7 separate regions of the Homo sapiens genome follow, and all the other regions are linked to region 1. Evidence: promoter capture Hi-C in 16 types of primary human blood cells and fetal thymus (Javierre and others, 2016). All regions are on one chromosome and are shown on one strand. Each heading gives the region's core, a stretch centred on a gene start or on the middle of the fragment in contact. The rest is flanking DNA. Distances are from core to core; before and after follow the strand shown.

Region 1 (3,655 bases), core at 234-2,733:
CCTACAAAAATATTCTAAAATACCATCCATAAAGCAAGTGCTCACTGCCTAGATGTACACTGCAAGTAAAATCTTTGCCAAGTGGCTTCAGGTCTGGAAGTGTGTCTTTTCCTCACCAGTTCTCCCTCTACGTTAGTGTAGTAGAAAGACAATTCTCCATGGTCAAGAGTTTAAAAGCAAACGACAACAACAAAAAACTGGCAACAGGGGGCTGTGCAAGACTACCATGTACCTATCAAACTGAAAACTACCATCCTATCCATTGACCTGCAAAGCTGTTTATCAGTGAAAAAGTTACAAATGTTTACGAATGAAACAGAAAATCTAAAAAACTGTATGTGCATTATACTTTTTAAAAATGTGTATGTATATTTAGGAATACCAAAAACACAGCAAGAACACAGGCCCATAGTAAACATGGTTAAGAGTAACGGGGACAATCAGTGACTTTGTTTCACTACTCAAACAAATTTTTGCAAGATATAAAAAGTAACAATTAGTAAGATGATCTCTGTCAACTTCAACCCAAGCAAATTTCTCCAAGGGAGGTGTGGGAACCTCTAAGACAGAGCCTTCTTCGAGGGCTCCATCTCCATCTCTGAGCTTCGTACCCCTCCCTGCGTGAAGCAGGCATCTTCAGTGATTTTCTTCTAAGCAGCGTACACAAAAAAAAGTCTCACAATTCCCTGCAGATTACCGAGCTCACCCCATTCCAACCCACAAGGCTGCCCAGGCCTGGTTCCAGTCCCATTTTCTCCCACAGGCTGCTGCAGGAAAACAAAGAGTGGCTGGAGGCAGGGGCGGGGAGCACCGGCTCTGCAGCCAGCGCGGAAGCGCACGGCCAGAAAGAGACCGGGAACGTCCGCCAGGCTCCCGGGCTCAGCATCATCTGCGGGGGACGGCGGACCCCGCCAGGCGCGGGCTCCCAGTGGGGCGGACCCGTGGCCGCGGCCCTGCGCAGGGGACGCCCGGGCCCCGCCGACTGCGGCTTCCAGGCGACTCCCCAGTCGGCTGTGCCTGGCCGCCGGCCGGCTAGGGGCGCAGGTAACGCCCGACGGGCCGCCCCGCAGAGACCCCCGCTGGCGCGGCTCCGGGACCGGCGCCCTCTCAGCGGGCACGGGCGCACAGGGCGGGGCAGCGCCTCACCTTGGGGTCGCGCTCGTAGTAGTGCTGCTGCGTGCGGATCCAGCGGCCCACGAGGTGGTCGCGCACCGTGTGCGCCAGCGCGAAGAAGTAGTCGCGGGGCGTGGCCACATTGCGGTCCTTGACCAGCGTGAAGTGCAAGTGCCGGTTGAAGCTCTTCCGCACCTCGGCCACGTCGCCTAGCCCCGCCAGGCCGCGCACGCTGATCTGCTTCCGCTTCTCGCTGTCCGTCAGCGGCTTCGCCATCGCGCCGGCGGAGGCGGAGGAAAAGAGATGGAGGAGGAAAGCGGCGGCACACGCGAACGCCGGGATGGTGCAGCTGCTCTGGCGCCGCTGCTCTGGCGCCCGGCACTGCGGCTCTGCGGGCGGGATGGACCGCGCCTGCGCGCCGCGCCGGGGCGGGGCCTCGGGGGGCGGGGCGGGGCCTCGGGAGGGCGGGGCGGGCGTCCAGGCTCATAGCTGAGATCTCTGGTGTAGTCCGAGGCGGCAGCGACCTGTCCACGCCACCTGAGCGTGGTGTTTGCCCCCTCGTTGGGCAAGCCCGGCAGAAAGTGGGAGCGACTGGAGGGGGCAAGGGACCCGGGGCCTCGGAGCGTGCCGTCGTGGCCGCTCCTGCCAGCCCGGGGACGGTGCGGGAAGGGGGCCCTGCCCTCCGGCCCTCGGGTTCCTGGGACCGGCCCTCCCGCCCTGCACCGGGTCACCAGGTGCCCCGCGGGAGCGCGCTGGGCTCGGGCTGTGGCCGAGACCTGGTACACGTTCGGGGAAACTGATTACAGCTTGAAAGGCATCCACCAACGCCTGCTGGGCCCGGTCTTCTCTGTCCGGGGCAGGGCGGCTCTGAAAATACCAGCTATTTGCTTGCCACTCCAGGCCGATGACAGACGTGGAGAAAACCAGCTGCCAGCGAGCTGGAGACGCCCGTTCCCGAGGGCGCGAGGCAGCCACAGCCAAATGCCACCACGACCCCGCCTCGGAGGGACCGCAGCCCCCTAGCCCTCGGAGAAACCCTGTTCCCGAAACCACCTGGCAGACGCTGTCCGCTTTGAGATTACAGCAGGGAGAAGGAAACATGCCCGTCTGGCCGGGGAGCTCAGCCACTAACCGAGACTTAGCCTCTGTCATCCCAATCCAGGCTGCAGCTCCAGATAGGGGGCGTCTGCACACAGCTTCCCACACTTGGCCCCGCGGAACACAGTCCTGCTGGCCTCAGCCTGTGGGAACCCTGCTTCATGTAAAGGTCACCTAAACTCTGCCTTCCCTCAACCCCTTCAAACTCTGCCTTTCCCTTCGTTCTTGGGAGGCGCTCCCTCATTGCAGTGGGTCAGTACACCCGATTTTGTGGACCACAGGTTTGCTCCTGGTGGTCTTGGGCTGAAGGGGCTGCAAAGGTTACTGAATTTCGTGGAGGTAAAAATTGCCCGCAGGAAATGTCATGAAAGTCCAGGTGCAGTAGGTTTCCTGGTGTGATGCTTCAAAGTTATCTTCTTACCTGGAGCCCCTTCCAGCTGCAGACTTCAGAGGTCGGAGGTTAATCAATCTGGAATGACCCCACAGCCCACCCAGCTCCAGCTCGGGATTCACTCCTGCACTATGTCCTAGGGATTCTGGAGCCAACAAGATCGAACTTCGGGCACAGATGGCAGGGCTGTGGGGTCGAGCTTGGCTGCAAGCTCCGAACACTGATGCAATCTCTCTGAGGGTGATCTGGCAATTCAGAAGTCATAAAAATGATAGTGCCCTATGACCACTTCTACCACTCTGGGGAATTGAGTTCAAGGAAAGCTTAAGAAGACAAAAAGCAAGTTATGCAAATATGTTATCTGCTGTGGTGTGGTAAAGTTTAATCCCCCAGCTGTGGTGCACACCTGGCAAAGAATGGAGGCGCTGACACTTATTGATCATTACTTGCAGTGTACACGTATTAACTCCTGATCCCTGCAAATAGCCTGCTATTACCCCCGCTTGACAATGGAGAAGGTGAGCCACAGAGAAGTTAACTCTTCCCTAAGCCCACACAGCTAATAAGGGAAACAGCCAAGGTTCACCCCAGCCAAGCCCTGCTCCACTGCACAAGCCCAGAAAAATGTATCTGTGCTCAAAGTTAATATCATAAACCATTGTGCTGCTAAAAGGAATGACTGTTTTAATAGCTAGCTAGGAAGGTGTGATTGATGACACAATACTGATAAATGAAACACAAAAATAAGGATGTAATGCAGAAATGACAGTAATGATTTGAATATTACTTTCATTTAGTCAATTTAAATTTAAATTAAATAACCACATGTGGCTAGGGACTACTGTGTTAGAAACACAGGTGTATATCCAAACCTAAACACTGGTTATTTCTGAATGGAAGAATTATCAGGGGGGTTATCTTATTTTCTCCATACATTTTGTATTTCCTGTTTTTTCCACAATATTTCTTTTGTAAGTGGAGTAAGTTTTAGTAAGAAAAACTAGAGGCCACAGACTTCACTAATGGATGCTGATTTAAGGCCTATATATTCTC
Region 2 (3,470 bases), core at 344-2,843, 1.6 Mb after region 1:
CAGGGGCTCCTTCCTGACTCCCCTCCAGGGCTGAGATGCCCAGGCACAAGCTGCCACCAGCCCTCTGAAGGACACAGATCTCAGGCTTCTGACTTTGAACTGTTGCCTGGACCCACTTCCAGCCACCAGCCAGCACAGTTAAAGCCTGTAGACTTTGACAGCTAAAACGGAAGGCTGCCATTTTCCATAAGACCTTCAGGTCTTAAAAAGAGGTGTCCTAACAAAACATGCCCAGAATACCTTATATCTTGCTCAGGAAAAAGGAAGTGCACAAAATATTTTGTAGACAGGGATATACCACCACCTCCCTTGAAGCCCAGTGTTTTGGGACTCTGTGTTAGGAAGGAAGAGCCTTCCCTAACAGCCTGCTGCAGGCTGAATCAAAGAACACATTTAAAAGCCTGGAAGCAACCACAGAACAATAACATACTTGAATGGAGTCATCAGTAGACACTAAAACCACTGGGGGGAGTGACTGGTGCACAGGGTATTTTATAATGTCTCCAAGCATCTCCCCATAGGTCACTTATTAACAATAAGTATGGAGAAACTTATGGAGAAACCTGCAGACACTGCCTTAAATAATAATCAACATCAAGTCACCAGTAACAGGACAAACTCACATCCTGGGCCTCCTGATGTGATGCACTGAGGAGGACACAGCCTCACCCAGGCAAAGCTTCTGTCAAAAGAGTTGGCCTCAAGTCTAATCATCAAGAAACAAAAAGACTCAAATTTATAAGGTTATAAATTATGTAAAATATTATTATAAAAACAACTGTTCTGTATTCCTCAAAAATTGTCAATGACATGGAGGACAAAAACAGGACAACTGTTGTTCCCATGCACGTTCATTAAAGCAACATGATACAAAATGCAAAGTGAGATCCTGGATTTGATCCAGGAGCAGATGGGAAAATGTTGGAATGGATATCTTGGGGATAACTGGATAAATTTTTAAAAGAACTACTATTAGATAATTGTGTATTGGTGTTAAATCTCCTAAATCTGATAATTACGTGACAACAAGTACCAAAAAGCCTTTTCTTCAGAAGAACTTCTTTCTTTTTTATTCTTTTTTTTTTGGGGGGGGGGCGGGGTGGAGTTTCGCTCTTTGTTGCCCAGGCTGGAGTGCAATGGCTCGATCTCGGCTCACTGCAAACTCTGCCTCCTGGGTTCAAGCGATTATCCTGCCTCAGCCTCCTGAGTAGCTGGGATTACAGGTGCCTGCCACTACACCTGGCTAATTTTTTGTATTTTTAGTAGAAATGGGGTTTCACCTTGTTGGCCAGGCTGGTCTTGAACCCCTGACCTCAGGTGATCCATCCACCTTGGCCTCCCAATGTACTGGGATTACAGGCGTGAGCCACTGCACCAAGCTAGAACTTCTTTCTTAGGCAGAAGTATTTAGGGGTAAAAAGCCATAATATCTACAACTTACCCTCTAATACGTATATGTGTGTGTGTGTATATATATGTATATATATATATGTAAAAATATTTATAATATATGTATGTATATATAAAATAGAGAGAAGCAAATGCTAAAGTTGGCATATGGATGTGTATCACTCAGGGTTCAACCTCTCTCTTACGAGGTCTGTAAGTTGGTATATGGTATTAATCTTAAATTAATACCATATACCAACTTACAGACCTCGTAAGAGAGATATATTAAGAGATATACTGGCATATTTCATTTTATTATCCTTTGCTGACATTGCATTTTTTACAAATTGGAAGTTTGTGGCAACCCAGAGAGGAGCAAGTCTATTGGCACCATTTTTCCAAGAGCATGTACTCACTTTATGTGTCTGTGTTACACCTTTGTAATTCTCACAATATTTCAAACATTTTTATCATGATTATATCTGCTATGATGATCTGTGATCAATGATGTTTGATGTTACTATTGTAATTGTTTTGGGGTGCCATGAGCAGCACCCACATAAGACTGCAAACTTAATCTATGTGTGCTGACTGCTCCACTAACCAACCATTCTCCCATCTCTCTCCCTCTCCTCGGGCCTCTCTATTCCCTGAGACACAACAATATTAAAATTGGGCCAATTAGGCTGGGCACAGTGGTTCATGCCTTTAATCATAGCACTTTGGGAGGCCAAGGCGGGCAGATCACTTGAGGTCAGGAGTTCAACACCAGCCTGGCCAACATGGTGAAACCACATCTCTATTAAAAATACAAAAATTAGCCTGGCGTGGTGGCACACACCTGTAATTCCAGTTGCTTGGGAGGCTGAGACAGGAGAATTTCTTGTGCCTGGGAGGCAGAGGTTGCAGGAGTGGAGATCAAGCCATTGCACTCCAGCCTGGGTGACAGAGTGAGACTCCATCTCTGGAAAAAAAAGAAAAAAAGAAAGAAAGAAAAAAAAATAGGCCAATTCATAACCCTACATTGGCCTCTAAGTGTTTAAGTGAAAGGAAGAGTTGCACCATCTCTTCCACCATCTCTCACTTTAAACGAAAATCTAGAACTGATTTAAGCTTTGCAAGGAAGGCATGTTGAAAGCCAAGACAGGCCAAAAGCTATGTCTCTTGTGCCAAAGAGCCTAGTTATGAATAAAAAGCAAAAATTCTTGAAAGCAATTAAAGACGTTACTCCAGTGAACCTGCAAATAGCAAGAAAGTGAAATAGGCCTGGTGCAATGGCTCACACCTGTAATCCCAGCACTTTGGGAGGCTGAGGCAGGAGGATCACTTAAGCCCAGGAGTTCAAGACCAGGCTGGACAACAAAGTGAGACTTTGTCTCTACAAAAAATAAAAACAATTAGCCAGATGCAGTGATGTGCATCTGTAGTCCCAGCAACCCATGAAGCTAAAGCAATAGGATTGAGCTCAGAAGTTCAAGGTTGCAGTGAACTATGATTGCATCACTGCACTCCAGCCTGGGTGACAAAACAAGACCCTGTCTCAAAAAAAAGTGAAATAACCTTATTGCTGATATGGAGAAAGTATGAATGGTCTGAATAGAAGATCAAACCAACCACAGCATTCCCTTTAGCCAAAGCCTAATTTAGAACAAGAACCTAACTCTCTTCTATGAAGGCTGGAAGAGGTTATAAAGCTGCAGAAGTTTGAAGCTAGCAGAGATTGGCTTATGACATTTAAGAAAGGAAGCCATCTCCATAACGTAAAAGTGCAAGGTGAAGCAGCAAGTGCTGATGTAGAAGCTGCAGCAAGCTATCCAGAAGATCTAGCTAAGATCATTGATGAAGTTGCCTACACTAAACAACAGATTTTCAATGTCGAAGAAATAGCCTTCTATTGAAAGAAGTTACCACCTTCTTTTGTAGCTAGAGAGGAAAAGTCAAAGCCTGTTTTCAAAACTTCAAAGGACAGGCTGACTCTCTTGTTAGGAGCTAATGCAGCTGGTGACTTTAAGTTGAAGCCAATGTTCATTTACCGTTTCAAAAATCCTACAACCCTTACTAATTATGATAAATCTGTGCTC
Region 3 (3,581 bases), core at 613-3,112, 1.4 Mb after region 1:
GGTTGAGAGAACAAAGGGAGCAGCTGTCTGTTCAGAGCCTCCTTCCACCCTCCCTACTCCTGAAGTCACATTCCAGTCCAGGCCCACAGCATCCCGAGCTGGGGGCTTTGTCAGCCCACAGGGCACCCAACTGACCACATCCTCTCAGTCTGTGGAGAAGGAGAACTCTCAATCCTGGCAATGAAGCCACGCTGAGCAAAGGACGAAGACACACCTGGGCTCTCTCTGCAGGATTCCATTCCTGGGAAGCTCAAGGACAGGCAACAAAGGAGTCCACAGGACCAGATGTGGGCTGCCAGGGTCGGGTGGGCATGAGGGTGGGCTTCAGAGGCAGGAGGAAACCATCTGGGGTGAGGCAGATATCACAGGTGTGGACAAAGTGGTAACACAAGTGTATGCATTTATGAAATCCCCCAGATTGGGCACATACAATTAGGCATTTTATTGTGTGTAAATTCTACCTCATTCAATGTAATTTTTAAAATATTACATGAGTTTTCCAAGCAGTGTACAGAGGACCAGTGCTGGCAGCACGTCTCCCAGAGGGGAGGAGCAAGAGAGGCTCTTGGGCTCCCACATTCATCCTGTGGCTGCTGCTCCTTCTCCTGACACCCCCACCACCTGCCAGGGGTCTCCCTGCGCCTTCCACCTGGACACACCCACAGTTACCGTGAGACTCCAGGTCGTTCCCTTCCCTGCTCACACCCCCTCCAGGAGCTTCCTCTTCCTGGAGCAGGCATGCCCAGCCTTGCCTCAGGGCCTTTGCACTGACTATTCCCTGCTGCCTGGGGCTTCTCAACCTTTCCGGTCTCTTAGAGACTTCCCTGACCAGGGTCCAGTAGCACCCACCCTCTCTCTAACTGAGCGACTATAATTCCCTGATCTAAATTGTTGATCACCACTCTGCATCCTCCCACACACCCTAATGGCTGGGCTATGCAGTACCACAGCCACCAGCAGCCACTCGTGGCCACAGGGCACTTGAAATGGGGCTAGTCCACAGTGACGCTTGGTCTAACTGTAAAAAATACACAGGGAACTTCAAGACATTACACTCACACAAAAGAATGTAAACTAGCTCCTTAAGAATAGTCCTGAAGTGTTGAAGTATTTTGGATATATTAGGTTAAAGTAGAAATACCAAAATTACTTTCAGCTGTATCTTTTAACTTTTTCAAATGTGTTTTAAATTGCTCCTGGGTTTCTGTCACATCTCTGTTGGATGGCAGCTCTGCAAGTTCATGTCTACGGCTCTATTGCCCAGACTGCTTGGTGCAGGGGGAAGCTGGTGACAGGTTTGTTTATTGAATAATGAGGAGTTATGAAACGAGAACCCAGTGAACTTTACCCAAAGGTTAATTACTTTATGTTTGGCAAAGAAGTTCCCCAGAAGAGGGCATGGACAAGGTCATCCCGGAGCTTCTGAAACAGCTCCCTGCCCCAGGAATTCCCAGACCATGACCACGTGCTCCTGGATGCCCCTGACATCTGAAGACTTTAGAAGGCCAAGCCCTGTATTTCTCCCTTTCCTGTGGACATAGGTGGTCACCAGGTTTCACAGCCCAGGGAGCGGTGTCACCTCTCTGGAATCCAGAGTGAGCCAAGCTTTAGAGCACTGAGGAAGAGGGGCAGGGCTGTGGGGAGGTTGCGGTCAGGACAGGAGTGGGGAGGAGGATGAGGAGGAGGCATGGGAGGAGCGAAGGGAACTTAGGGAGGGAGGGAGGTGGTTGGGGGTGGAAAGGGAGATAGAGACAGAAGAGGAGGGGTAGAAAGAGGAGGAGGAGCCAGGGGCGGGGCCAGGGAGCAGGTGGGGTTGGGGGACACCCAAGTAGGATAAATGCACAGCTAGCTTCTGGCCTGGGCTTCCTGCCTCAGCCTTCTGCTGCTTTGCTCTCTGGGAGATCCAGCTCCTTGCTCTGTGTCCCAGTAGAACATGATGTGGCCCATGCACACCCCACTGCTGCTGCTGACTGCCTTGATGGTGGCCGTGGCCGGGAGTGCCTCGGCCCAATCTAGGACCTTGGCAGGTGGCATCCATGCCACAGACCTCAATGACAAGAGTGTGCAGTGTGCCCTGGACTTTGCCATCAGCGAGTACAACAAGGTCATTAATAAGGATGAGTACTACAGCCGCCCTCTGCAGGTGATGGCTGCCTACCAGCAGGTGCGTGCTACCACCACCCTGGGGGTCCTGAGTCCCAGCTGGGTTTTTTGCCTCACCCCCCAGAGCACTCCCAGCAAATCAACATTATCTAAACCGCAGACTCATTCAGCTTTCTCTGACTGTCTGCTGATGGTCTTCATGCCCTAGGACACTCCTTGGCCGTGAGTGCATGAGTTCAGCCCTGTCCTGTCCCCTCGGCCTCTTTTAACCTGCAGCAGCCACTGTGTCTGTACCATGACTGTGGCATTTCCCAGGGTCCAGCAGGTGTGGATGGAGACTGTGCTGACTCTGGGTGGGCTTGATGCTGCTCAGGATGAGATCCAGGCCACGAGGTTCATCTTCCTCCCTGAGTCCTCTCCACAGGGGCCACACGGGAACCTGACTCCTTGTCCTGGATAGCCCCGCTTCCCTCCCAAGTCACGCCCCTGGGCACAGCCCGTTATGGCTAGTGGCCTTCACTCTCAGGCTGGCTGACCACCCCCTACAGCCCAGGACAGCTGAGTTCCTGCTGGGGTAGAGCATGCCTGACCCTGCCTCTGCCAGCTAACGCAGAGTTAGACCTCAGCAAAATGAGGACAGCAATCACCCAGCAGAGTGAAGGAGGTGGTTGGGTCCAGAGGGAGGAAGCTTCAGCAGGGCTACCGAGCCCAGCTTGACCTACGTCCCATGGCAGAGCAGCAGTGACACAGCGACCACAGGGCTATATGGCCTGCCAGCCTTTAGAGCTCCTCCACCTTCTCTTGGAAAGTCAGAGGAGTCCAGACCAGCCCTGTTTCTCCTCCTGCAGCCCTCTCCCTGCACAGGAGGGGCATTCCCTGGTGCTGTGGTCCCTGCTGGCCTGCACTCCCTCTTAAGTGTGTCACTCACTGGGAGTGAAGCACAGAATGATGTAGATCGTTGGGCCCTGGAGCCTATTTTACAGAGCAGCAGACTGACACCGGAGGGATCACAGGACTTCCATGTGGTTCTACAGGACTTGTGTGTGGTTCCACAGGGCAAGGTCTAGCACCCTGGTCCCAGGGTCCCTCATCCCATGCTTCTCCACAGTTCTGACAAGTCATGTTTTGGGGCGGCACTGTGCAGGGAAAGCATTCAGTTCTCTTCTGAAGTTGCAACCCTAAGACATGCAGGTGTGTGACTCACTTTAGAAATATTGCCTTGAAAATCACACCTGGAATGGAGGCATGCAGGAGGCAATGTTTATTGGCCTAAAACATCAATGTATGTGAGCATCTCATCTCCTACTGAGAAATGAGGAAAAATACCTCTGGGTTAAATGGCAGGAATGAGATGCTCTGTGGACTGAATGCCAGGAGCTGGAAGTTAGCTGAAATTTCATCATCAGGTGGCAGCCTTCCTAGGATGGGACCAGTGTCCCTGCCCCCTGAGCACAGGTAGCAGAATTCAGTTAATCCTT
Region 4 (3,728 bases), core at 298-2,797, 1.9 Mb after region 1:
ACCAGTTCCGGGGTTAAGAATTAATTTTTGTTTTTAATATTTCACATGAAAAGAATCAAAGTAATTGTAATGGCTAGAAGAGACCTGCCAGAAGATTAAAAAAAAGAATGAGAGAAAAGCCCAGTTAGTGGTGTGCAAACTTACTTCCTTTAAATGTCCCATGGATGTAGGACAGTGCCATGTTTCAAGATGCCTGTGAGCTAGGTCTTCAAGATTTATAGAATGTTACTTATGAACAAAATATAATTATTTATGGTACAATTCTTGTACTTTAGCAAATCTGGAGTTAGTTCATAGTCAAAGTCAGTTAATATTTCTTAGAGGAAAGTTTTGCTTTTTGTGGCAACATTTTTATAGCTTGTGTGAGTTCTTTTTTATTTAATGATTTGAAAGCAGTATTTTTGCACAGTCGTGACCGTGTGTGGTGGCGTCACTGTAACCAAAGTATATGCACCAGCCCTTGTGCATTTATTGTTTCTCCTGATTTTGTGGATTTAAATGTCCAAATGCAAACCTTTGTGACTTCCTTTGGAGGACTTGGCAGCACAGCATGCCCCCGTGACCTGCCTGCTGTGGTATGAGCTATGACCAAGAGCAGGCTTCCTGCTCCATGGAGTCCTGAGTTGCTCTGGGGCAGGGGATTACGTTATGAAAACTAACCATGTGTAACAATAAATCTACCTTAGCAGAAAAAGTATGCTTGTTTTATTTTAACCTATAAAGTGGAAATTATCAGTAATATTTTGATGAGTCTTGTTGCTAAATTGGCATAGGTCAAAAGTAGCTTCCATTGTTTCAAGTTGTTCCCGTTAAGATTAAGGCAACAGACGTTAATACTCTCTAGGCTCCGGTCATTTGTTGGGAATTCCAGGGCACCGTAATGGTTTTGCAGACTGAGGGTTTAGAAGGAAACCCTGGTAACTTCTGTTGATGCAGTCCACTAAAGTACATGATAACCCTGCAGACCCCACATTCTCATCCCTTCCTTGAATCCTTTAGGGTCTACAGTTACTTGCAAAGTTGAGGAAGGCATGGTTGCTGGAAGACTGGTGGGGAGGTGAGGCACCCCTAAGCCTGACACTCTCCTACCCCAAGAAAGTACCACTCAACTATCTGGTCAGTGTGGGCATTTATTTTAATTTTGCAAAATATCTGCACAGGGAGAGGAGATGCCCCTGGGGAAGGGTCAGTCCCACTGACCACTGGGGCCTGAAGTTCTGATGAGGAAGAGGACCCATGGCGGGTAGTGCAGACCGGCTCATCCTACCATCCTATCATAGAGCCTTGATTTCAGGTCCTAAAGTATATTCACAACACTTCAGGTAAGTCAAAGCAAAATGTTTTAAATGGTAGAACAAGCTGTCCTCATCTAGGCATTCTGAGTTGTTGATCATTCAAAGCCTAAATCAAGTGGCTCTTCTCAGAATCAATTTCCTAATGAAGATGCCACCATGGTAGTTTAAAAGCTTAGTTTTGTCAGCCTTAGTTAAGAGTCCACGTACGGATTGCCAAAGGTATGCAGATGATTTTCTGAGTCTCATTTAGCATGATGTGATAGATCAGGGGTCCCCAACCCGTTAGAAACTGGGCCTTACGGCAGGAGGTGAGCTGCAGGCAGTGAAGCTTCATCTGTATTTGCAGTCACTCCCCGTGGCTCACATTACCACCTGAGCTGTGCACCCTGTCAGATCAGCAGTGTCATTAGAGTCTCATAGGAGTGCAAACCCTATTGAACTGCGCGTGCACGGGATCTAGGTTGTACGCTTTTTATGAGAATCTAATGCCTAATGATCTGTTGCTGTCTTCCATCACCCCCAGATGGGACTGTCAAGTTGCAGGAAAACAAGCTCAGGGCTCCCACTATACATTATGGTGCATTGTATAATTACTTCATTGTATATTACAATGCAATAATAATAGAAAGTGCACAATAAATGCAATGCGCTTGAATCATCCTGAAACCATTCTGTCCCCCCACCTGTGGGAAAATTGTCTTCCACAAAAGTGGTCCCTGGTGCCAAAAAGGTTGGGGACTGCTGTGCTAGATGATCCTCTGACCTGTGTGCCTTTCTCAGTCACATCAAATGAAATATTGTTACTCCTGAGTACATGAATATCATGACATTTGGTTAAATTGACAAGTACCCATCTTGTTTCCCAAAAATGAACTCCTTGGAGGGACAAGGTTTATTTAACAGGTTAAAAATTAAATTATACACTCAAATTTACTTGTTTGGATAATCACCTACAGCAAAATCACATTTCTGTAAAAATCACCTTAAATAAAGGTCTCCACCACATGGCCCATTTTTTCCAAACGACAGCAAAGAATTTGGTAAAACGAAAGGCTGCACATCCCTTTGGAGTTTGGGCTGACAGCATTTCACAGAAAATGGTTGGAAAATGGTTGAAGCAAGCTCCTAAATGGCCCTTCTTGAGGCTCTGGGAGAGGCACTGTGCCGGCACCTGGCCACTTTCCTCATTACACACTTGGGACCAATCCACTCAGATGGTGGCCTCGCTTCCACTCAGCATGGCTGTGCTTGGACTTGGAGGAATGGGGCAGATGCTCCAGGAGGTCCTCTGTAACCAGTCCCCTACAGGGTTACGTTTCTCTGTTCTCAGGGACAGAGAAATGTATATAGTAGAAGTCGTATCTTTGATGCCTACTTTTTACATTGAAGAAAGTGGCAGAGAGCTCAACCGCACTTCCAGCCCGGTTGTGGCCTGCGCATGAGCAGAGGCCAGGATTTCTCCTCTCCAGGATCCCACTGCCAGAGACCAACTGGGATCCAAGCAGTTAAACAGCTTAATCCTAGGACTGTATGAAATAAAGGCTTATGGACCCGGATTTTACATTTCATTATTCACGTAATTAAGCAAATTATATGTTTCAATTAAGAATCATATTTCTGCAGAACCTAAATTATAACAGAAATAGATCTTTAAAAAATTGCAAAACTGCTTTTACAAAGCAGACATTTATTAACAACATTTTTTTGTAGAATTTCTAAGGAAACAAATTCAAGACAAAAATCCCTCCAGTAGGTAACAAAATGATCTATTGTTTCAATTCCTTCTGATCAAGTGACTTTATTCCATAAAACAGTACATCAGCTGGGCAGGTTCGGTCTCCTCTGGATGTATGACAGTCATTATTTATTTGTGCTGTAAACATAACTAGGATACAGTGACACTGTCATAACTAAATTTGAAGTAAATTAGTACTGTGACCTCCAAGGGCAGGTGTGAAGCATGTTATCAGCGCCTGAAACACCTTGTAGTGGTTTCACTAACATAAGTTAAAACATAAGCACTTAGGAAGAAAGTCTTCCCTCATTAATTTCTGGCATAGTGCAGCTACATGTTCATTCTGGAACTTAAAGTACCTTCCTCTTAGAAAATCAAAGTGTTTTCACAGCAAGTTTAATAAATTAAAAATGTAGAGAAAAAAGGAACTAGTGAACAAAAGAATTCTCCAAGGTTCCCTTTTTAAATTAATGTTTAAATGTTACATGTGAATCATAGCATTTCACAAGCACGTGGCACATACTCAAGGCCCTAGAACCAAATGTCAACGTTTAACAAATACAGCAGAATCGTCTTTTCATTGTGAATTTTTAAAAGCAATAATTAAGTCCTGCATGAAACAGCCAAAGAAGCATTTGGGACAAAGTTACTGGTTCTTCACAATCAACTCTTTAAGGCATAATCGGAGGTAAGTGTGC
Region 5 (3,547 bases), core at 805-3,304, 1.8 Mb after region 1:
TACTGAGCATAGTACCCAATAGTTTTTCAACTGTTTCTCTCCCCATACCCCGCTAGTGTCCCCAGTGTCTACGGTTGCCATTTTTATGCCCATGGGTATCCAGTGTTTAGCTACCACTTATAAGTGAAAACATGCGGTATTTGGTTTTCTGTTCCTGCATTAATTCACTTAGGATCTTCTTTCTTATGTAGTAGCTTCATATGGATGCTGTTTCTCCTTTCTGTTTAGTGTAGAGAGTCACAGAGTTTCTTGGACACACAATAGCATGTGTTTCTGTGATAGGAGATGAGCGGTTTGTGTGACTTCATGGGTTTCTTAGTTTAAATGCTGCGTTGTGTAGGTACAGTTAAGTGCGGTTTCTTTAATGAATGGTGCTGTGGAGGGGTAGGTTTGTGTGACTTCTAATTCTGTGATACTCTTTTGTTTCAAGAACGTATTTCCATCACTTGCCTTCTTTCCTTTCACTGCCAAACCTCCATAGAGCTGCCCCCACCTTCTAAGTTGCCTTCTCCCAGAAGCAGTGTCTTCTGGAAACTGCAGCCTGTGGCAAAGCCCTTCTATTCAGTTCCCAACTGCAGTGCTCTAACCTGCCAGGTCTTCCACCTGGTCTGGGGTGTTTGCCCACCCTGGTAGGGCACTTCCTTGCTGAGAGTTCTTCCCTGGACAATGATTGCCAGGTTAAACTCCCCTCTCCTGTCGACAGACGCCCCTCTGACTGGCAGCAGAGGCAGTGTTGCTAGCTCTGGTAGTTTTGGATTTTTTATTTCCTAAATTATATTTAATGGAGGCTTGCTGAATACTGCCTCCTTTTGCTGTAGGCACGGATTATGGGTGGTTGTGTATGCTTTTTGTTGATCTATAAGGTTTTTGGAGGATGTGTGGATATATTTATCTAAGCAGCCACCATGATTTTTTGGGAATCACATGTCTCATCAGTATTTTCTGAAGACTGAAATTCAGCTTAAATTTTTATAAAGACTGAAATTCAATTTAAAAACTGCTCTTGGTAAATCAGGTTGTATGTAACAGTCATTTCTGAATTAATCTAGCAGTTACCATTATCTTTCTTAAGTATTTAAATATGTTTGTTTTGTTTTATAAATAGGTCCAGTGTATACCTATTTCTTCTCTATAAAGATGACTACTCCCCATATAAAGTTGAGGCATTAGAAAACTATTGTCAAAATAAAGTCTAACTAGTTTTCTTTGTTATACTTGTTCTCATAAGCTTTATTTCAGGAAATTGTGCTTAAACACAAATACTTTGGTCACAGGCCTTAAATGTCTCTGATTATTTTCTCTGTTTGAGAATCTATGATTTTTGTCCTTAATTAAGCAGAAGTAAACTGAAAAGTTCTTAGAAAATTGATTCCAAAAGCTCAAGGCCACTGAGACAGCGCTCCCCTTACTGGTACAGTGCTAGCTGGCTTGGTGGAATTTTTCTTTCTCTCCAAGGCCAAGACAGGCCTGGCTGCTCCAGGGAACTGGAGGCTGGTAAATAAATGATACTGTTCATTTGTAGGTGGTCTGACTCAAGCCCATGCCCTGGGCCTTTCCACCATACCTTGGGCTTCTGCATTACCGATTTATAAAAGAACAGTGAAACATTTAAATGCTGCCTTTTGCTGTAAGAATTCAAATTAGCATTCTGGAGAGTATCTCCCTCCTACCTTTTTAAAAAAATAGTTTTTAATTGACACATTGTATTGCATATATTGATGGGGTACAGTTTGATTTTTTGATATACGTCTGTGTTGTATAATGATCAAATCAGGATAGTTAGCATACTCATCACCTCATACATTTATCATTTCTTTGTGTTGAGAACATGTAAAAATATCTCTTCCAGTTGTTTTGTGTCCTTCTGGGGCCTCTGCATCTCCTCCACGGAAGAAATCTCTACTTTTGCATCACATAAAAGATTTGTACTGTTTTAAAATATATTAAGCACTGAAATAAAGTAATCTTGGAAGGGTTAAGTTTACCTAGGAAAGCCCCAAGTTTTTAGAATCTGTGGAGTTTCCAGAAGTGAAGCATCAGGTGGAAATAAATTGTTTATAGAGCCTATAATATCACAGAGTAGTTGTGTATGGCAGAGGCACGTTCAGACAGATTTTGAATTTTCCTCTCTTCTGGATTCTTTCTACATTTGCTTATTATTTTGAGGCATACATGGGAAACCTTAAAAAATGAATGTGGACAGTTTGTTCCATCCAGACACTAAGCATCAGCCTTGTTATTGTGGCCTGTGTGCTAGGCCCTGTGCTGCTTCCTCTTCCCCAGAGCATCAGTCTAGTGGCTAAGGAGATACTGCTGGTAAATAATGAGAAGAAGGAGGTACCATGCTTTGTGGGGATCCCCCCAGGCTCCCCACACTGGGCAAGTCCCTTTTCAGTCTTTTGGGGTGGCTTGACACACCCCTTCATGGCATCCTGATGTTAGAGCTGAATTTTGCCTCTGGTTCTACATGCTTATCTTCATAGTACTGTCACTGTCACTTTTTGTGGTATTTCTACTCTAATATCTTGTGATTTTAGAGGCAACTTTATTTCTATCTCAGGAGTTGTCAGCCTTTTTCTTTGAGGTACATCTCATGATGTGTGTGTCATTAGTTCTCACAATTCTACGATGTCTCCTTCCTCCCACCCACAGTTTTAAAATAGTACGGACTATAGTTGTCATAGTTTTACAATGCTCTGCAATAGTTATTATTCAGGATGGGGGAAATCAAGATTTTAGATTATTTGAAGATGAATTGGTTTTCACAGCTCTGCTGTTCACTGGCTCCTGGTGGGACATTTGTGGCTTTGACAATGTTTCCTCAGGGGAACATGGGGAATTGATAGGCTTTTTCTCAGACCCTTCTGGCCGTGAAGCTTGATATTCTTTCCTCAGTGTCGTGACCTCCTTGTGGGCAAGAAGTTTATTTCCTTAGTGTTTTCTGGCACATATGGATCTCAGTAAATATTTCCTGAATAAGTACGGTCAAGAAGAAGAGAGTCTGCCTTGCCTCTGGAATGCAAGGGTGGTTCACCTGGGCCAGCCAGGTGGCAGTGGTTTTTGTGCTAGCTGGGCAGTGTTTTCTTTCACGGTGGGGAAAATGTTTTCTTCTTCCAAGTCAGATTCCTGTAATACAAAAAAATAGTTAATTTAGCTCAGTTTAGCTTCTTAATGTCAATTGAGTGCTAAGTGTTTAACTTATGTTGCTGCGTAATATGGATTCCCCACAGAATATTTTTTCCAAGGATCTTCTGCCTCACTGTGAGACCTCTGGATAACAGTTGTTACTTTGAATGCAAATTCTGAATACTTGTCCATAAAATTTACAAAAAATTAACTTTCACATAAAACAAAATAAGCATCCGGTGTAATTTCAAAAGTACCTTTTTTCAGGAAGTTTTAAAGTTATGGTCAGTTTATGACAAATGGGTTTTTAAAGTGAGGCTACCTCTGGCAATTCTGTTTCAGGAGACATGAGGATCTCATGGTTTAGCAAAGTTCAAAGGTCACTGAACTTGAAGTCAAGTGTCAGGTACACTACTGACCT
Region 6 (3,592 bases), core at 340-2,839, 1.2 Mb after region 1:
GCATTCTGCTATAGTTCTTCCTCTTTTTGTTCTTTTGTGTAAAATTGGGTCTTTAAAATATATTATCTTACTTTTCCAGGGCCCTCTAAGCCCCTAGATCATGTCCCTGTAAGTAAAGAACTTTTGGACATGTCTTAGGTTAGAGGCTCATACATTTGGGAAAATGTGGAACCTGCACAAGATTCAAGAAACAAAAGGCAATTAGAAATTTCAGGCAAAGCAAAATATTTTCAAGAACATTATGGTTCAAATATGAAGCAAACTAAGATGTTGTCTGCTGGGCAGTGGGGGTATAACTTGATTTTTCTCCTAGAAATATCTGCCTGTGTTGTCCCAGGCCACGATTCTGGGCTTGGAGAAGGAAATGTAAGTCAACCACAGTACTTGGCTATGGGGTAAACCACACTTACTTTGCCATATTTTATTGAGTATGTTTATTAGTTTTGAACTTTTAAATCACCTATGGTACAGAATATAAAATAGATGTTATCTTCCCTAACAAAGATCCAATTGATAGAGGTTTGGGAGTGGGTGCAGAAATAGAGATGAATCCAAAGATACTTTATAAATTGATAGAAACATAAATCTATATTTAATGATATTACTTGTATTTACACAGTAACTAATGGAAGGCCTGCCTACAATTGGGAAGAGGTGGAAAAGAGAGAATAAAATGATTTAGGTGAGCTAATTTTTTTAAATTTTAAATCAGAAATTTACCAGATGATGTCTGAAAATTATTTTAGAACGAACGAAAAAGCGTAATGGGCACATTAGTTAGTGCTGTGGTGGTAGCCACCAGAAGGCAGAACAAGTTGCAAGTCTGGGGGAAGGCACAAGGGTGCACAAGAGGCTGTGTTTTCATGGTGCACCTGGGTACCTTTTTATTTTTATTTATCGTATGTGCATATTATATTGATAATCATTATGAATTTTACTATTACTTATTGTATAAAAGTATTCCTATTTCCACTCTACTTCTCACATGTCTTAATAGGTAGGCTCTATGATCCCAAACATGATACAGTCATGTAACTATCCGGCTCCATCAGATCTAATTCTGTAGCAGTAATACCAAATTCCCTCCGTCTCTAATCCCTCTCTAGCTGAAAATAGGCACATTGACCCTTCACATCCTGGAAAGAAGGTGATAAGCATCACTGGTCTGAATCCCTATAGGGAAAACTAATAAAAATGAGAACAACAGTTTCTGCTTGTATGACGGCTTCCCAGAATGATTAATGAGAAGGAGAAGCTGCTCCACCTTTGTACTTCTAAAAGTCAAGAGCCATCCCCACAGCTGGGTTGACAGTGAGGGTAATTTTGCTTTACTTTTATGCAGGCCTAGTGCCTGCAGCTATGTGATGTTTTAAAAGTACCTCACATGATATCTGAAAAGATGCATGCATGCTACTTGTGTACCATAAATAATAAATTACAGCAGTATCACAAGTGCTGTGACACAGTGGTTATCTCTGCTGCAACTCAGCCAGAGTGGGGGCAGTTCTGCATGTAAGCATAGGAGTGTGATTAATCCCTTCCCCTCTCTTTTCATGGCTAATTTTTTATTCTATTTAATAATGCAGTACACTAGGTCCCATGATGGAGTGTCCTGTGTGTTTTATGCCTAGAGAGCCAAGAAGCACTTGTTGGGCACAGAAGCAGTCCTGGAATACTGCTAGGACACCTAAGATTCTAGTCCTGGGACAAGACTCATCTGGGGCCATATTTCTTCAATCACTGCATTGCAAATGTCTCTTGCGATAATAAAATACGGCAGCAGTTTATTGGTGCTTTATTGAGAGGTCTATGAGCCTCCCGCTTGAATCTGGGCAGACCATAAAGAGTCACTGCAAGGACAGGCAGAATGGAAGGGCATTGTGTGACTTCCATCAGCAGGTAAAGGGCATAAACTTTCTACCTGGTTCTCCTGGGATGGTCATGCCAAGGGAACCTGGATGCCCAATCAAAAATGTAACTCCTCTAAGGTCCCCATGCTGGAGAGGCTGAGGGGGACATCAGCTGAGCAAGTTCTTGGACCTCCAGCGCAAGTGTCTCAGCTGAGGGCAGCTCCAGCCAAGGCTGATTGCAACAAGCATGAGAAATCCAACCAAGAATTGCTTAGACCTTCCTAAACACCTGACCTGCAAAAATTATGAGCTGAATTAATGGTGTTTTAAGGCACTAAGTTTTGGTATGTAAAGATAGTCAGCAAATACCTCTCAGCCCCTACAAGAATTGCCTGGACCCCTCATTAGTATCATTTCTTACATAACCTTGACTTCCTTGAGGTCTATGGGGTGACTCAAAGAGGTAACCCAAATGAAAGAAACTTGTGCACCAAAATTATAAGATATCATCACAAATATTTCAGAGAAAAACACTACAAAAAAAGCAAGTTATCTGTATTATAATTATTGAATTTTTCAAATAGCAAATTTAAGAATACTCTTGGTTTGATGCCAAGTTAACAATCGGCCTAGTGGGGAAAGATGGAAGGTGCACCTGTCATTGGCACTGTGGACAAATAAGTCATCTTTCTTGCCCTTCTCTCCTTCCTCCCTCCCTCGTCCTCTTCCTCTTTCTTTTTCTGCTCCTGTTGCTCTTGGTCCCCTTGTCTCCTTCTTGCTCTCAGTCTTGCTTCTTCCTGGGAGTATCAGTCTTCAGGCCCCATTTTCCTGTGGCCTCAATATTTCTCCAGGGGACCAAGCAGGTGAGCTGGGCACCTTTGCTGGTGGAATTGGCCTGTGCTGAGACAGGTGAGAAGAAAGGAAGAAGAGGACACCTAGGCCCCCGCCTGGTAATATCATGAGCGGTTCCTCTCCTGAGGAGCAGCTTCTGTTGGGATCATTATCTAAGCAATTAGGGGTTTCCACTCAATTTGCAGGCTCGCTGATTGTTATGCATGTCTCAAAGCATCAGGCAGTAGAGGAACTAATCAGCACTTAATTGCTGAAAATAAAATCCAGAGAATAAGGAAGAAAACACAAAGAAAAACAATTCTCTCATTATTTCAACTTTTCTGCACCACTCCCAATTACACAGTAAATCACCTCTTTTCATAGCTGCTGTCATGACATCTGTGTGGGCCTTGGGGTCACTTAATTTCAAGCTGCCTTTAAAACCAGGTCCTCTGAGGAACAGATATTTGTTTTATGCTGATGCAATTAAAGAAGCTAATTTCAATTTTGAAGCACACAAGATGTATGCAAGTTAATAGCTTTTCGGCTTTTGGCCTCCAAGCAGAATGAAAAGCTTGTTGTTCAGCTTTAATAACCTGTGGGACAAATCTGAGTGTTCATATAAATTGGAAACCTTGCTCTTAACTATTTTTTTCATACAATTGCTTCCTGATACAAGGATCCTTATCTTAAATCCTGTAAATCTTCAAAAGTCTTTTGTTTCTTGTGCATCTGGCTGTGCCATTTATTTGGGGTGTCATAAAGGGAAAATGAAGTAGAAACAGGCACCTCCCAGGACAGCCTTGCAAGCTGGAACTCAGAGCACTTGGGGCACTGTGGCTGTGATGACCCACCTCAAGGTTGTTCTCCTCCATGCCTGCCCCATGTCCTTTGCCTTCCTTGTTCAGAGT
Region 7 (3,423 bases), core at 169-2,668, 1.2 Mb after region 1:
CACCAGTGTTGAAAAGACACAGATTTTATCCTTGCCATGATTTGGTAACATGTTCAAACACAAAGAGAAGGCTCACAAGGAACACACCAAACAGCTAGGCTTATTCCTCATTCATTCAACGGGCACCTTGGAACACCTACTCAGTATCTGACACTTACTTTCTTGGGGAATGCAGAAGTGGGGGAAAAAAAACAAAAATCCCCTCACCTGTGAAGCCGATTTTACAGTGGGGGCAACAGATAACAAATCACTCAGTAAAGTGCATGGGGCCTAGAAAGTGGGTGCTATGGGAGAATCCAGTGGGGTAAATGGGAAGGAAGAGATGGGTGTGTGGAAAGAAGGTGGAAAGGACAGGAGCCAGGCTGATGGCTGGTGGGGACGTTCTCAGCAGAGGAAGCCAAGAGGGCAAAGGGCAAAGGGCAAAGGCTGTGAAGCAGAGAGGTCAGCATGGCTGAAACAGAGTGAGCAAGGGGTGCGAAGGAGGGTTGGAGAGTCACCCTGGGTGGGAGCAGATGGGGGGACTTTAGCTTTTACCCTGGAATGGGGTTTTGAACAGGGGAGTGAACTCTAAAATTCACATTACAAAAGGCCACACTGGCATGGCTGGGAGAAGAGGGTGGCAAGGGAGGTGCGGAGAAAGCAGCAGGGAGGCCTTTGCCATCGCCCCAAAAAAGATGGTCTTGCTGGATCCATGTGGAGGTGGTGGAGGCTCTAAGGAGTGGCCAGAATCCGGATCTGTGCTGAAAGGCGAGGCTCTAAATTTGCTCTTAGGCTGGCTGTGAGTGTGGAAGAGGAGACGCATAGCCTATCATTCCAACATTTCACCCTGAGACACTGCAAGGATAAAAAACGTAAAAAAAAAAAAAAAAAAAAAAAACAAAAAAAACAAATAACAAAAAAAAACCCAAAGAAGCAAATATTTAATACAAAAACTCAGTCTGCAACCAAAATACCAAGATAGGCTTTGGTCTCCAGAAACCTCTCTGGAGGGCACGGAGTTGTCACTGTGTGATTTCCTTGAGGAGATGGAATGAAGATATCATCCACCAGAAGTCAATTCCGTGTTGGCTGGGGGTAGCCAGGAGGCTGGAGGCCTTAGGAGAGCCTGACCAACTGGACAGATCCCCAGGGGTGGTAGTGCTGCCCTTCTAACCTAGGAAATTAGCTCCAAGGCAAGAAGCTAGCTCACATAATGGCTTGACTGCTGAATTCACCCTAATTGTTTTATCTATTAATTGCTTAATTAACTTGTTAAATGGGAATAAATGTGTGGTTAGTTTGCAAAAAGTGTTTTGTACTTCTTGGTTACCTCTTCCCATTGACTTCCTCACACTGGGAGCAATTGCATGTAATAATTGCTAGTTGGCTCAAGTACAACAAAAACATTGCAGGAACTTCAAGTAAGGTGAGAACTGAGCATTCAGCTCTGTATTTTGCAGTGTGGCCATCAATAGTAACCTTGAAATGGGCAGTTTTGGTTGAGTGGAGGGCATGGACACTCAATTGGAGTAGAATGAGGAGAAAACAGGAGTAGGTTGGGTAGAGGTGGAGGAGGGTACAGGGTGAGGCCTGTAGTGAACCCAAGGGGCCCCTGTGGTAGTCATGGGCAAAAGAAGTTAACACTGCCAAATCTTTAGACTTTTTTCTGAAGTTACAAACTTCTCATAAAAAATAGGTTTTTATGATAAATGAGTTGGTCATAAATCAAAATTTTTTTAACAGTATGGCCAGTGGCCTCAGGACCAACATTGCCACTGAGACTTCACTTCTCCAGGATCAACTCACCTCACCCACTAGGTATCATGGACGTCTTCACTTCCAACATTCCTGAAGAGGATTCGCCTCAATAGTCTTACCAGAAAATGGGCATGGTGCTATGACCTGGCCTCCCCAGTTCATCTACAGCAGGATTTCTGTCTTTGCTCCAATACTGAAAATTTCCATTAACACAACCTTTGCTTATTTCAGCTTATATCATTTAGATTTCTGTTTAGCCAAATCTATCCTGCCCTGCATGTGTACAACTAATTTTTTTTAAATTTTGGTGTGGGGGACTTTTTCTGCAACTATTAAATTATGTTAAGATAAGAGGTGGTAAGGATGTGGGCTGCTTTGAATCCAGATGATAGAAGTTTCCCTGTTTTGTTTGCTAATGACAAGGTCTCGGGGGTGGGCAGCATGAGTGGCTGCAGTGAGTGGAGGGCAAGGCTTTGTTATGGAGGCGCGAAGGAGCTGCGAGGCTAGGGCACTGGACAGAGCCTCTGCGTGGTCTTCCATGTGGAGGACTGGATGGTCAGGGAAGCTGAAACCTCCAAGGAATAAAGGAAAACGGCCACAGGGGTCTATACCCAACTGTCTAAAGAGGGGCAGCAGGTGGTATGGCTCACGTCATGAGCCTCGGGGCTGGGATTTTAAGGAGGGAGAGTGGTGTGGAAGTGGCAATGAGGAGAGAGAAGAGCCATTGCACCCCAAGTTCAGGCCACATGCTAAGAGGCCTGCAGGGGAGACACATTCAGCACAAGAAGCTGCAGAGGAGCAACGTGCTCAGGAGGAGGTGGGAGGAGAGGGGCGCAGACTTCACCTCTAGGACAGCCCCTAGGACCAAGGGGACCCGGTCCTGTGTGTGTCTGCACATGCACTTCTTACACTCTCTGGAGTTGTTTTCCTCACCTCCTCAGCAGGCATGGAGTGTGTGTCTCGTGGTTTCCACGTGGGGGCAAAGGAGGAGCATCTATGCATGGGTCCAGCCCAGTGCCTGGGCTCTGAGGGAAGGCTGCCCACATTTGAACATGCATTTAAATGTCAGTCTAAAGAGTGAAATGCTTCAGATGAAAATGATAGTTTAAAATAGCCAGTGACTCCAACAACCCAGTAAGTTACTGGAACTTGGGGCTTAGTTGGGAAAATCAATTCACACAGAGTGGAAAGGAATAAGAAGTCCCCATTTTCCCGCCCTGCAGGGCCCTCACCAGGGGCCAGCAGGCAAACAGCACCATGGAAAGAAGCCAGCAGGCGGGGAAAGATCTCCTGGGGACACCCAGATTCCAGCTTTTTCAAGGTACCACTAATGAGCTGCAGCCCCAGGCAATCCTTGTGGGTGTCAGGGCTGCCACCCTGCCTGCTGTCCAACCAGGGTTTTGTGCTGCATGATTTATGAGGCCCTGTCTCCATGCTTCCGGGTGGTTATAAGGATGATGATTCCCCTGTTCTGGCAGAACATGGTGGACCAGCTTCTGAGGCTTCAGCTACATGGGCCCTCAGTGTCTGCATCTCTCTGTGGAAGCTGCTCTTGCATTTCACAAGGCCTTTGCAAAGGGCAGGGCGTTCATCTTACCTGGGCTTGACCTGTAGATGAGGTGGGGGGAAAGACACAGCATCTGAACACACCTTGGGAGCCTCAGAAGCCTCATGCTGCAGCCTTTG

The links. The method cuts DNA at HindIII sites, captures the fragments that hold promoters and counts their contacts. A CHiCAGO score of 5 or more calls a contact.
Region 2: a contact is called between a fragment that was not itself captured here and the fragment with the promoter of PYGB in region 1, in 1 of 17 cell types (M0 macrophages). The highest score is 7.2, in M0 macrophages.
Region 3: a contact is called between the fragment with the promoter of CST5 here and the fragment with the promoter of PYGB in region 1, in 4 of 17 cell types (fetal thymus, activated CD4 T cells, total CD4 T cells and 1 more). The highest score is 9.6, in fetal thymus.
Region 4: a fragment that was not itself captured here is called in contact with the fragment with the promoter of PYGB in region 1 in 1 of 17 cell types (total B cells); the score reaches 12.6 in total B cells.
Region 5: a contact is called between a fragment that was not itself captured here and the fragment with the promoter of PYGB in region 1, in 1 of 17 cell types (total B cells). The highest score is 5.4, in total B cells.
Region 6: a fragment that was not itself captured here is called in contact with the fragment with the promoter of PYGB in region 1 in 4 of 17 cell types (naive CD4 T cells, naive CD8 T cells, total CD8 T cells and 1 more); the score reaches 8.1 in naive CD4 T cells.
Region 7: a contact is called between a fragment that was not itself captured here and the fragment with the promoter of PYGB in region 1, in 1 of 17 cell types (naive CD4 T cells). The highest score is 6.7, in naive CD4 T cells.

What each region holds. Positions count from the first base shown.
Region 1 is chr20:25,245,913-25,249,567 of GRCh38, reverse strand. PYGB (glycogen phosphorylase B) reads right to left here and starts at 1,483. Exons shown (of 20, transcript NM_002862.4): 1 at 1,147-1,483. The coding sequence starts at 1,389. RefSeq lists silencers at 840-1,219, 1,530-1,719, 1,730-1,919, 2,100-2,179, 2,198-2,451 and an enhancer at 1,370-1,449. The HindIII fragment of the contact is 3,937 bases long and covers 1-2,927 here.
Region 2 is chr20:23,649,572-23,653,041 of GRCh38, reverse strand. No RefSeq gene overlaps it. Among named protein-coding and RNA genes, the nearest start is that of CST3, 13 kb to the right of the region's middle. The HindIII fragment of the contact is 1,823 bases long and covers 682-2,504 here.
Region 3 is chr20:23,878,029-23,881,609 of GRCh38, reverse strand. CST5 (cystatin D) reads left to right here and starts at 1,862. Exons shown (of 3, transcript NM_001900.5): 1 at 1,862-2,164. The coding sequence starts at 1,934. RefSeq lists an enhancer at 1,540-2,369. The HindIII fragment of the contact is 1,186 bases long and covers 1,608-2,793 here.
Region 4 is chr20:23,371,488-23,375,215 of GRCh38, reverse strand. GZF1 (GDNF inducible zinc finger protein 1) reads right to left here. Exons shown (of 6, transcript NM_022482.5): 6 at 2,154-3,728. It overlaps NAPB (NSF attachment protein beta), which reads left to right. Exons shown (of 11, transcript NM_022080.3): 11 at 1-694. Among named protein-coding and RNA genes, the nearest start is that of GZF1, 11 kb to the right of the region's middle. The HindIII fragment of the contact is 157 bases long and covers 1,469-1,625 here.
Region 5 is chr20:23,407,046-23,410,592 of GRCh38, reverse strand. The region is part of intron 1 of NAPB (NSF attachment protein beta); the gene reads left to right. Among named protein-coding and RNA genes, the nearest start is that of NAPB, 13 kb to the left of the region's middle. RefSeq lists enhancers at 2,186-2,245, 2,386-2,445. The HindIII fragment of the contact is 1,648 bases long and covers 1,231-2,878 here.
Region 6 is chr20:24,022,287-24,025,878 of GRCh38, reverse strand. No RefSeq gene overlaps it. Among named protein-coding and RNA genes, the nearest start is that of GGTLC1, 35 kb to the right of the region's middle. The HindIII fragment of the contact is 3,336 bases long and covers 1-3,257 here.
Region 7 is chr20:24,039,046-24,042,468 of GRCh38, reverse strand. No RefSeq gene overlaps it. Among named protein-coding and RNA genes, the nearest start is that of GGTLC1, 52 kb to the right of the region's middle. The HindIII fragment of the contact is 7,127 bases long and covers 1-3,423 here.